Regions from separate parts of the Homo sapiens genome. Here regions 1 and 2 are each linked to region 3. Evidence: promoter capture Hi-C in human tissues and cell types (Jung and others, 2019). All regions are on one chromosome and are shown on one strand. The core of a region is centred on a gene start or on the middle of the fragment in contact, and the rest is flanking DNA. Distances in the headings are between cores, read along the strand shown. Region 1 overlaps EP300 (EP300 lysine acetyltransferase). Region 2 overlaps SREBF2 (sterol regulatory element binding transcription factor 2). Region 3 holds the start of POLR3H (RNA polymerase III subunit H).

Region 1 (2,700 bases), core at 1-2,500, 380 kb after region 3:
CCATCACAGACGAATCTAAATGTAAACCAAAACTTTGCTTACACAACTTAGATAAACCGTTGAATTTATACTAACAAAAAGTTAAAATTCAAAAGACAATCTAGCAGAAGTATTTCTAAATTTCTAATGAAGAGTTAATAAAACTAATACACAAAGAGCTTTTAGAAATCAGTAAGAATAAAAAAGATAATTGAAAATCAAGCAACAGACATGAAGAAACATGAAGGGCATATAAATTGGTTTACACAGGAAAAGATGATCAAGGATTACAAATCAAGATAGGTTTTGCTAATGTGATAGGGGAGAAAAATCCTAAGAGGTGACATTTCCTATATGCTACTAGTTGGAAAGTACATTTTGAGAGTAGAACCAATAGATTCAGCTACTGCAAATGCACATGATATTTGTCTCCTAAGTAGTTTCTTGTATAAACTTGTTCATCAACCAAGTAAATAAATGGATTATAGTATGTTACAGAATACTATGCATCCATTAAAAATGCAGCAGACATAAATGAGTGTCTATGACCAGCCAGGCGTGGTGGCTCCCGCCTGTAATCCCAGTACTTTGGGAGGTCGAGGTGGGTGGATCTTTTGAGGTCAGGAGTTCAAGACCACCCTGACCAACATAATGAAACCCTGTCTCTAGTAAAAATACAAGAATTGGTCAGACATGGTGGTATGTGCCTGTAATCCCAGCTACTCGAGAGGCTGAGGCAGGAGAGGCTGAGGCAGGAGAATTGCCTGAACCCAGGAGGTGGAGGTTGCAGTGAGCTGAGATCACACCATTGCACTCCAGCCTGGGTGATGAAAGTGAGACTCAATTAAAAAAGTCTATGACTTATAACAAAATACAAAAATTAAAAATTAAATACACATAAATCAAGAAAATGTGCCAGGTGCAGTGGCTCATGCTGTAATCCCAGCACTTCGGGAGGCCGAGGTGGGTGGATCACCTGAGGTCGGGAGTTCAAGACCAGCCTGACCAATATGATGAAACCCTGTCTCTACCAAAATACAAAAATTAGCCGGGCATGGTGGCACACACCTATAATCCCAGCTACTAGGGAGGCTGAGGCAGGAGAATCACTTGAACCTGGGAGGCAGAGGTTGCAGTGAGCCGAGATCGCGCCACTGCACTCCAGCCTGGGCAACAAGAGCGAAACTCTGTCTCAAAAAAAGAAAAAAAGAAAATGTATGATTGTATGTACAAAAGAGTGTTATTCCTGTAGTGAGGAATCTGGGTGGGAAGAGAGAAGCTGAGACCGTCGCTTTTTACTTCATAAACTGTCATACTATTCAAATTTTATAATGAACATAAATTACTTTTAAGAAAAAGCAAGCTTAACACAGTAATAACAGATTATTTTCATTCAGTTGACTGATCCTAAATTAGAAGAACCACAAGAAGTCTCTTAATCATTCTTACGAAATCTGTTAAGGAAAGCACTAAAAAGGCACACTTAAAAGACAAGTCACACTGAAAATAAAGTATCCACTAAACCATCACCTATTTTCCTTAGTGTTATTTTCTATGTGAAAATAACGGTGAAAAAAAGAAAAGTGAAATCTGTCAATTAGCCTGCCCTTTCTTGTAACCTCCAAATCAGGAACAACAATCAGCCCAAGAACAGAGCAGAAGAGATGGAGATCCCATCTTAATGAGAGGCACTGGATGTCCCATATACCCGCTTCCTTTGGAACATGGCTGGGATTAGTTCCTCTTGTACAGAGCGATGGCCCCTCCCTTTTACTAGGCAATTACACTATGACTGCAGCCTTATAACTTGCTGTTCCTGCCCTAACCAAATGGTGACCCTTACCAGGGCCAGACCTATTCATGCCAGCAGCATGATCCTAGTTTCTAGATGCCGGAACAAAAGCATTTACTTTTTTCTTTGAGACAGAGTCTCACTCTGTCACCCAGGCTGGAGTGCAGTGGCGTGATCTCAGCTCACTGCAACCTCCCCCTCACAGGTTCAAGTGATTCTCTTCCCTCAGCCTCCCTCCTGAGTAGCTGGATTACAGGCGTGCACCACCACGCCAGGCTAATTTTTGTATTTTCAGTAGACACGAGGTTTTGCCATGTTGGTCAGGCTGGTCTGGAACCCCTGTCCTCAGGTGATCCGCCCGCCTCGGCCTCCCAAAGTGCTGGGATTACAGGCGTGAGCCACCTCGCCTGGCCATAAATATTTACTTTTGATGTGTAATAACTACAATATAATTTTAATAAACAATCCAGCAGAATAAAATATATTTATATGGCTAAGAAGAATGCATAAAAATAAGATAAAAATCTATTTTTGGATACTAGGTTACTTAATTTTTAAAAAGCGAACTATAATTATCGTGGCCAAACCCAAAGAAAACAATTTAAAGATAGTAACTTTGAAGATATAATACAGTCAATTGCATAGAATAAAAAACTTGTTAATATTCACGATAAAGAAAAATTCCAGAGAAAGTAACAACGTTAAGACTTACCCAGCAGGCCAGATGATCTCATGGTGAAGGACACAGATCTGATGCATCTTTCTTCCGCACTCTGTACATTCAACAAACCTGGAAGAGCAGAGCCAATTCCAAAATTAACCCCAAACCTTAACCAAATGAAAACTTGCAATATTTCCCATGACTTCTGACAAAGACAGCCAAGGTCATGACCAAAGAACTGAAAATAGTTTTAATAAAGTTTCTATTT
Region 2 (2,700 bases), core at 102-2,601, 300 kb before region 3:
AACAAAATCAGGCACAAGCCACTTCACCTGAACTGTCCTCCTCCTGGGGGCAGAGTCTACAAAGCAAGAGATCTCAACCTTTTTCAGCCCTTAAACCATTCAGGCAAAAATGAAAGACCCCAACATCCCACCATCTTACCCTTCCATCCATTACCATGCCCCCAAATCTCCCTAAAACTAAAGAGAAAAAGAATACTTGCAAAGCAGGTTATCAAATCACGCTACAAATACAAACATCCACTCAAATTTGCATACACTATGTACTCTGGGCTGGGAGCTGGAGGATCCTATGTGCCTTGTGTGGAACTCCGCACAGGGCAAAGACTGAAAAGTATTCGTTTTCTTCCCATCTCCCATGCTCACAGAGAAGAAAGAGAAACCTAACCAACTCCATAAACTGCGACAAGGGCAAGAACAGACAAGTGCCTCACAAAGAAAGGGCTGTCAGAGAGCAGAGAAAGGACTGATCCATCCTGGCAGGCAGTGAAAACCGAGCTTAACGGATGAAAAGGGTTTATAAATTAGAGAGAGGGAAGGGTATTCCAGGCAAAGGAAATAGTTTGAGCAAAACCACAGTATCAGGAAATGTCCTGCCAGCTGCTGAAGTAGAGACAGCACGGTGCAAAATGGAGAGATGGAGCTGCCTGTGAAAGGCCTGACTTAATGCTACCATGTATATTTGGCGGCAGAAACTGCTTTTATTTCAGAGGCAAGGAAAGGCACAGAATACATGGTGGGCATTTGCCACTTTTGTTCCATTTGTCCATCATCAGACCCGACCCTCCCATTAGCACCCTGATCTTCCTTTGGAGAATCCCCATTGGGCAGTCCTCATGTGAGGGAAGGTTTCCTGCCAGTCAGCTCTGATTAATGCATCCTCCCACCAGGAGTGCGACCCTTGAGGGAATGACCCAGGAAAGCAGAGACAATATACAGATCATGAAGGCGGAGGAGTACTAAGCAGGAGCCTCCTTGGTTCTGGCCCATTTTCCAAATTGGCTCTCCAGCTTTTCTAGTCACTCCAAGAACCACCCTTCTAACAAATCCTTTTCTGTTCAAGCTAGATAGAAGCGGTTTCTGCTGCTTATCACCAAGAATCCTGACTGATAAAGAACACACTGAAGCAAGGAGGCACCTGACCAAAACCCTGTTTGTGGAAGATAACGAACAGCACAGTTATCAAGAGTGTGGTCTACACAAAACCCAGACACTCGAGCACCAGCACTGGTCAAGCCCTTCAAAATGGCTGTTCACTCAGCCTGGAACACAGCTGCTCTCTCCTTCCACCCCTTTAAGACCTCAGCTTATCCCTGAGAAGGCTCCTCTGATCCTGCCCCCTCCACTAGTTAGGTGTTCCTGTTGGACAACATCCCAGACCTTCCACATTCAGATCTTTGGGGGTATACCCTGGGAGTTCATAGACACATTCAAGTTTGAGAACCTCTGTCCTATGCAGTACTCTGACACACATATTCCTAGAGCATGCCAAATTATTCCCAACTTTGTCTAAATCTATCTAAATAAACACCATGCCTGCTCCTTTACCTTCTAAAATCCTATTTACTCACCCTTCACAATTCAGCCCAAATGCCAAAGTCCTTGTGAAGATTTTTCTAATTCCCTTCCTCAGTCCTCCAAAGATTTAGAGTTGTTCCTCTGTTATAGCCTCTGTTGTATTTTCCCATGTATTATGACTGGATGTTTACATGTTAGCTCCCTGAAAGCAGAGGCCATTTCATTCAACTCTAACAGCTTCTAGCACTGTGCTATGAATACAGTGGATACTCATTCACGTTGAAATGCAGCAAGGATTTTTTAAAAACAACTTTTGACCAGAGAAGGGGCTCCTAGACAGACAGGCTTCCTGAATCAAGGCATCTCCCACCTCATTTTCATAGGACAGCGAAGAATATGGAATCCCACATCAGAAAATCCAAGTTCATTCCCCGTCATCAGCATAGGAAGCATTGGCAAATCATCTAATTTCTCTGTCTCAGTGCCTTCATCTATGTCCATGGAAAATGGGCATAAAAATCAAGCCATGGGCAGGCGCAGTGGCTCACACCTGTAATCGCAGCACTTTGGGAGGCCAAGGCAGGTGGATCACGAGGTAAGGAGTTCAAGACCAGCATGGCCAACATGTTGAAACCTCATCTTTACTAAAAATACAAAAATTAGCCTGGCATAGTGGCACACACCTGTAATCCCAGCTACTCGGGATTACAGGAGACAGGAGAATTGCTTGAACCCAGGAGGCAGAGGTCGCAGTGAGCAGAGATCGTGCCACTGCACCCTAGCCTGGGCGACAGAGCAGGACTCTTGTGGGGGTGGGGGGTGGGGGTGGAAATCAAGCCTCAATTTTATAGCACTTATTAGGAAGACAAATGTATCAGGAGGACTTGGGTAAAGTGTAAGGCCTCACAGGAATGTTAGCACTTGGGAAGAAGCATGATTTCCTTTCACAGCTGTGGGATGGAGGGGGCTTAAGCTGGGCAGACACCAGGTTAGCAAAGCAGTTCCATATCTGGTTCAGCAGCTCGAAATTTCATCACTGTTCCAAACTAGATCCTGAACCCAACAGACCTGTTCCACAGGGCCACGTGGAGGAGCAAGCTTGTAAGGGACATTTAGATACATATCCATTAGCAATTCTCAAGGCCTGAGATATGCAGAAATTTTCTAGTTTGCAAGCCCTTCGAT
Region 3 (2,700 bases), core at 39-2,538:
GAAAAATTAGCCAGGCGTGATGGTGGGCGCCTGTAGTCTCAGCTACTCGGGAGGCTAAGGCAGGAGAATGGCGTGAACCCGAGAGGCGGAGCTTGCAGTGAGCCAAGATCGCGCCACTGCACTCCAGCCTGGGCGACAGAGCGATCCTCCGTCTCAAACAAACAAACAAACAAAAAAACCCACTACAGTATACATCTACACCCCACCAATTTTTAGAGGCAGGGTAGTGAGGTTCAGACTGGGCCCACCTCTACCACTTGTCAACACGTGATCTTGGGTAAGCTACCAAATTCTCTTAGCCCATGCTATCACGTGAAGATGAATGAGACTGGAATGTCAGCGAGACAGAGCATGATGGGGCTATAGGAGGGGGGTATGGTCAGATCTTGCAGGGCCGTGTGAACTACCATAAAGGTTTTGGACTTTTCTTCTTTCTTTCTTCTTTTCTTTCTTCTTTCCCTTTTCTTTCTTCTTTCTTCTTCTTCTTCTCCTTCTTCTTTCTTCTTCTTCCGCCTCTCCTTCTTCTTCTTTTTCGTTTAGACATGAGGTGTCACTGTCACCCATGCTAGAGTGCAGCATGCAACCTCAAACTGCAACCTCAAACTCCTGGACTCAAGCGATGCTGCTGTCTCAGGCTTCTGAGTAGGTGGGACTACGGGTGTACACCACCACGCCCGGCTTGGATCTAGTATTCTAAGTTCAATGGGTTGTGTTTTTTGTTCCAATTTATTATAACTTTTCAATTGGAACATAATGTCTACAAATAAATGCAAAAATCTTGCCGAGTTCAATTAGTTTGGACAATTATATACGTCAATGTTATACCACCGAAAACAAAATACAGAACATTTCCATCATCTCAGAACAGTCCCAAGTGCCCCTTTCCTGCTAATTCTCCTTGTCTCCGGAACACTTAAGGGTGCTAAGCATGTTATGTTTGCGGTGGGTTTTTTTTTTAACTTAGATGTGGTAATATATGTTTGCGTTTCCAAAGGATCACTCTGGCTGCCGAGCAGAGGACAGCAATGCGGGTAAAGCACAGGCCAGGCGAGGGATAATCAGGCGGGATTGCACGGAGGTCGCCTAGCAACAGAAAGCGCTGTCGGGGGCGGGGGAACCGCTCTGCTCCTGTGAAAGGAGGAGGCCCCGCCCTCTCCTCGCCCTCTCTCTGCCCCACGCTGTGCGCGAGCACACAGGCAGCCCCGCCCCGCCTCGGCGGGGTGGGGGTGGACAGAGGTTTCTTATTGGTGAGTTTTCCGGAAGCGATGGATTCGGAATCTCGCCCGCAGTCGCGCAAGCGCGAGCGGCTGTGCGCGGTGCGTGGTGCGTGGTGCGTGATACGAGCGGCGGCACGTGGCGCGGGTGCGGGGCGTGGAGTGGCGTGGCGTGGAGTGGCGTGGCGTGGCGGGGTCTCGCGGCGCGGGCGCGCACCCGGAGCTGTGGACGGAGAGTGCCTCCCTCTGGCCTCAGTTTCCTCATGTTGTAGTAGCGGAGCATGGCCCGGACCGGGCCCCCGAGACCGCCCCGTGCAACCTCACCGCCAGCCTGGGGGCCTCAGCGACTGGGACGGGACCAAGGGGCTCGGGGATTCTCCCTGCCCCCGGCCCTGGTGCGTGACTGACCCTCCTGTTCCCAGAGCCCCCAGCGCAGGCCGGGATGTTCGTCCTGGTGGAAATGGTGGACACCGTCCGGATCCCCCCTTGGCAGTTTGAGAGGAAGCTCAACGACTCCATTGCCGAGGAGCTGAACAAGAAGTTGGCCAACAAGGTACTGGGCCCACGGCTCGCGGGCAGGCCTTGGCGTGGGAGAGCGAGCGCCGCCCACTGGCCGCAGGCCCGGCCTCGGTCATGCCAAGCCCTGGCCGTGGGCAAGCAGCTTAATGTCTCAGAACTTTTCTTCACCGTGAAAGGAGATATTGAAGGGGATCAAAAGAAAATGGGCTTGAAAAAGGGAGTTGTAACTGGAAGTGTTAGATTCCACAATTCTAAATTACTTTGCAATTGCAGGCAAGTTACTGACCCCTTCTGGGCCTCAGTTTCCATTTTTAAAATGGGGATAAAATATTGCTGTCCTTCCAGCCATGCATTGTTTTTGTTGTTGTTGTTGTTTGTTTTGTTTTGTTTTGTTTTTTGTTTTTGAGACGGAGTCTTGCTCTTTCGTCCAGGCTGGAGTGCAGTGGCGCGATCTCGGCTCACTGCAACCTCCGCCTCCCGGGTTCAAGCGATTCTCCTGCCCCAGCCTCCCGAGTAGCTGGGACAACTACAGGCGCGCGCCACCACCCCCAGCTAATTTTTGTATTTTTCGTAGAGACGGGGTTTCACCATTTTGGCCAGGATGGTCTCGATCTCTTGATCCCCCCGCCTCGGCCTCCCAAAGTGCTGGGATTACAGGTGTGCGCCATCGCCTCGGGTCAATGCATTGTTTTCGTGAAGATGGAGAGTTCTAGTAGTACAGAATTAACTGTCAGGAGGTTCATCCCTTCATTCCAGCAGCCAATATTTGTGCGCCTTCTCTGTGCTGTGCCTGTGTGCCTTAGTACCAGCTGAGAGGTCTTCCCACTGCCGTTTCTTTGACAGTCCTCCCTTTCCAGGTATTCTGTGTCACATCACTCTCTTTCCTTCTTAGACTTTTTCCTTTCCCTCTCCTTGAGAGCAGGGACCTTATCTGCCTTCTTCCCTGAAGTATCCCCTCATTTAGCCA

What was found. The method cuts DNA at HindIII sites, captures the fragments that hold promoters and counts their contacts. A contact is called where the count stands out against the background at its distance.
Region 1: a fragment that was not itself captured here is called in contact with the fragment with the promoter of POLR3H in region 3 in 1 of the 25 tissues and cell types used here (spleen).
Region 2: a fragment that was not itself captured here is called in contact with the fragment with the promoter of POLR3H in region 3 in 1 of the 25 tissues and cell types used here (liver).

What each region holds. Positions count from the first base shown.
Region 1 is chr22:41,163,914-41,166,613 of GRCh38, reverse strand. It overlaps EP300 (EP300 lysine acetyltransferase), which reads right to left. Exons shown (of 31, transcript NM_001429.4): 22 at 2,484-2,561; 23 at 1-15. Among named protein-coding and RNA genes, the nearest start is that of EP300-AS1, 32 kb to the left of the region's middle. The HindIII fragment of the contact is 6,950 bases long and covers 1-2,700 here.
Region 2 is chr22:41,844,572-41,847,271 of GRCh38, reverse strand. The region is part of intron 1 of SREBF2 (sterol regulatory element binding transcription factor 2); the gene reads right to left. Among named protein-coding and RNA genes, the nearest start is that of SREBF2-AS1, 11 kb to the right of the region's middle. RefSeq lists an enhancer at 8-808. The HindIII fragment of the contact is 6,451 bases long and covers 1-2,700 here.
Region 3 is chr22:41,543,058-41,545,757 of GRCh38, reverse strand. POLR3H (RNA polymerase III subunit H) reads left to right here and starts at 1,288. Exons shown (of 6, transcript NM_001018050.4): 1 at 1,288-1,767. The coding sequence starts at 1,657. RefSeq lists silencers at 1,098-1,197, 1,388-1,517 and enhancers at 1,568-1,657, 1,668-1,767, 1,090-1,927. The HindIII fragment of the contact is 26,348 bases long and covers 1-2,700 here.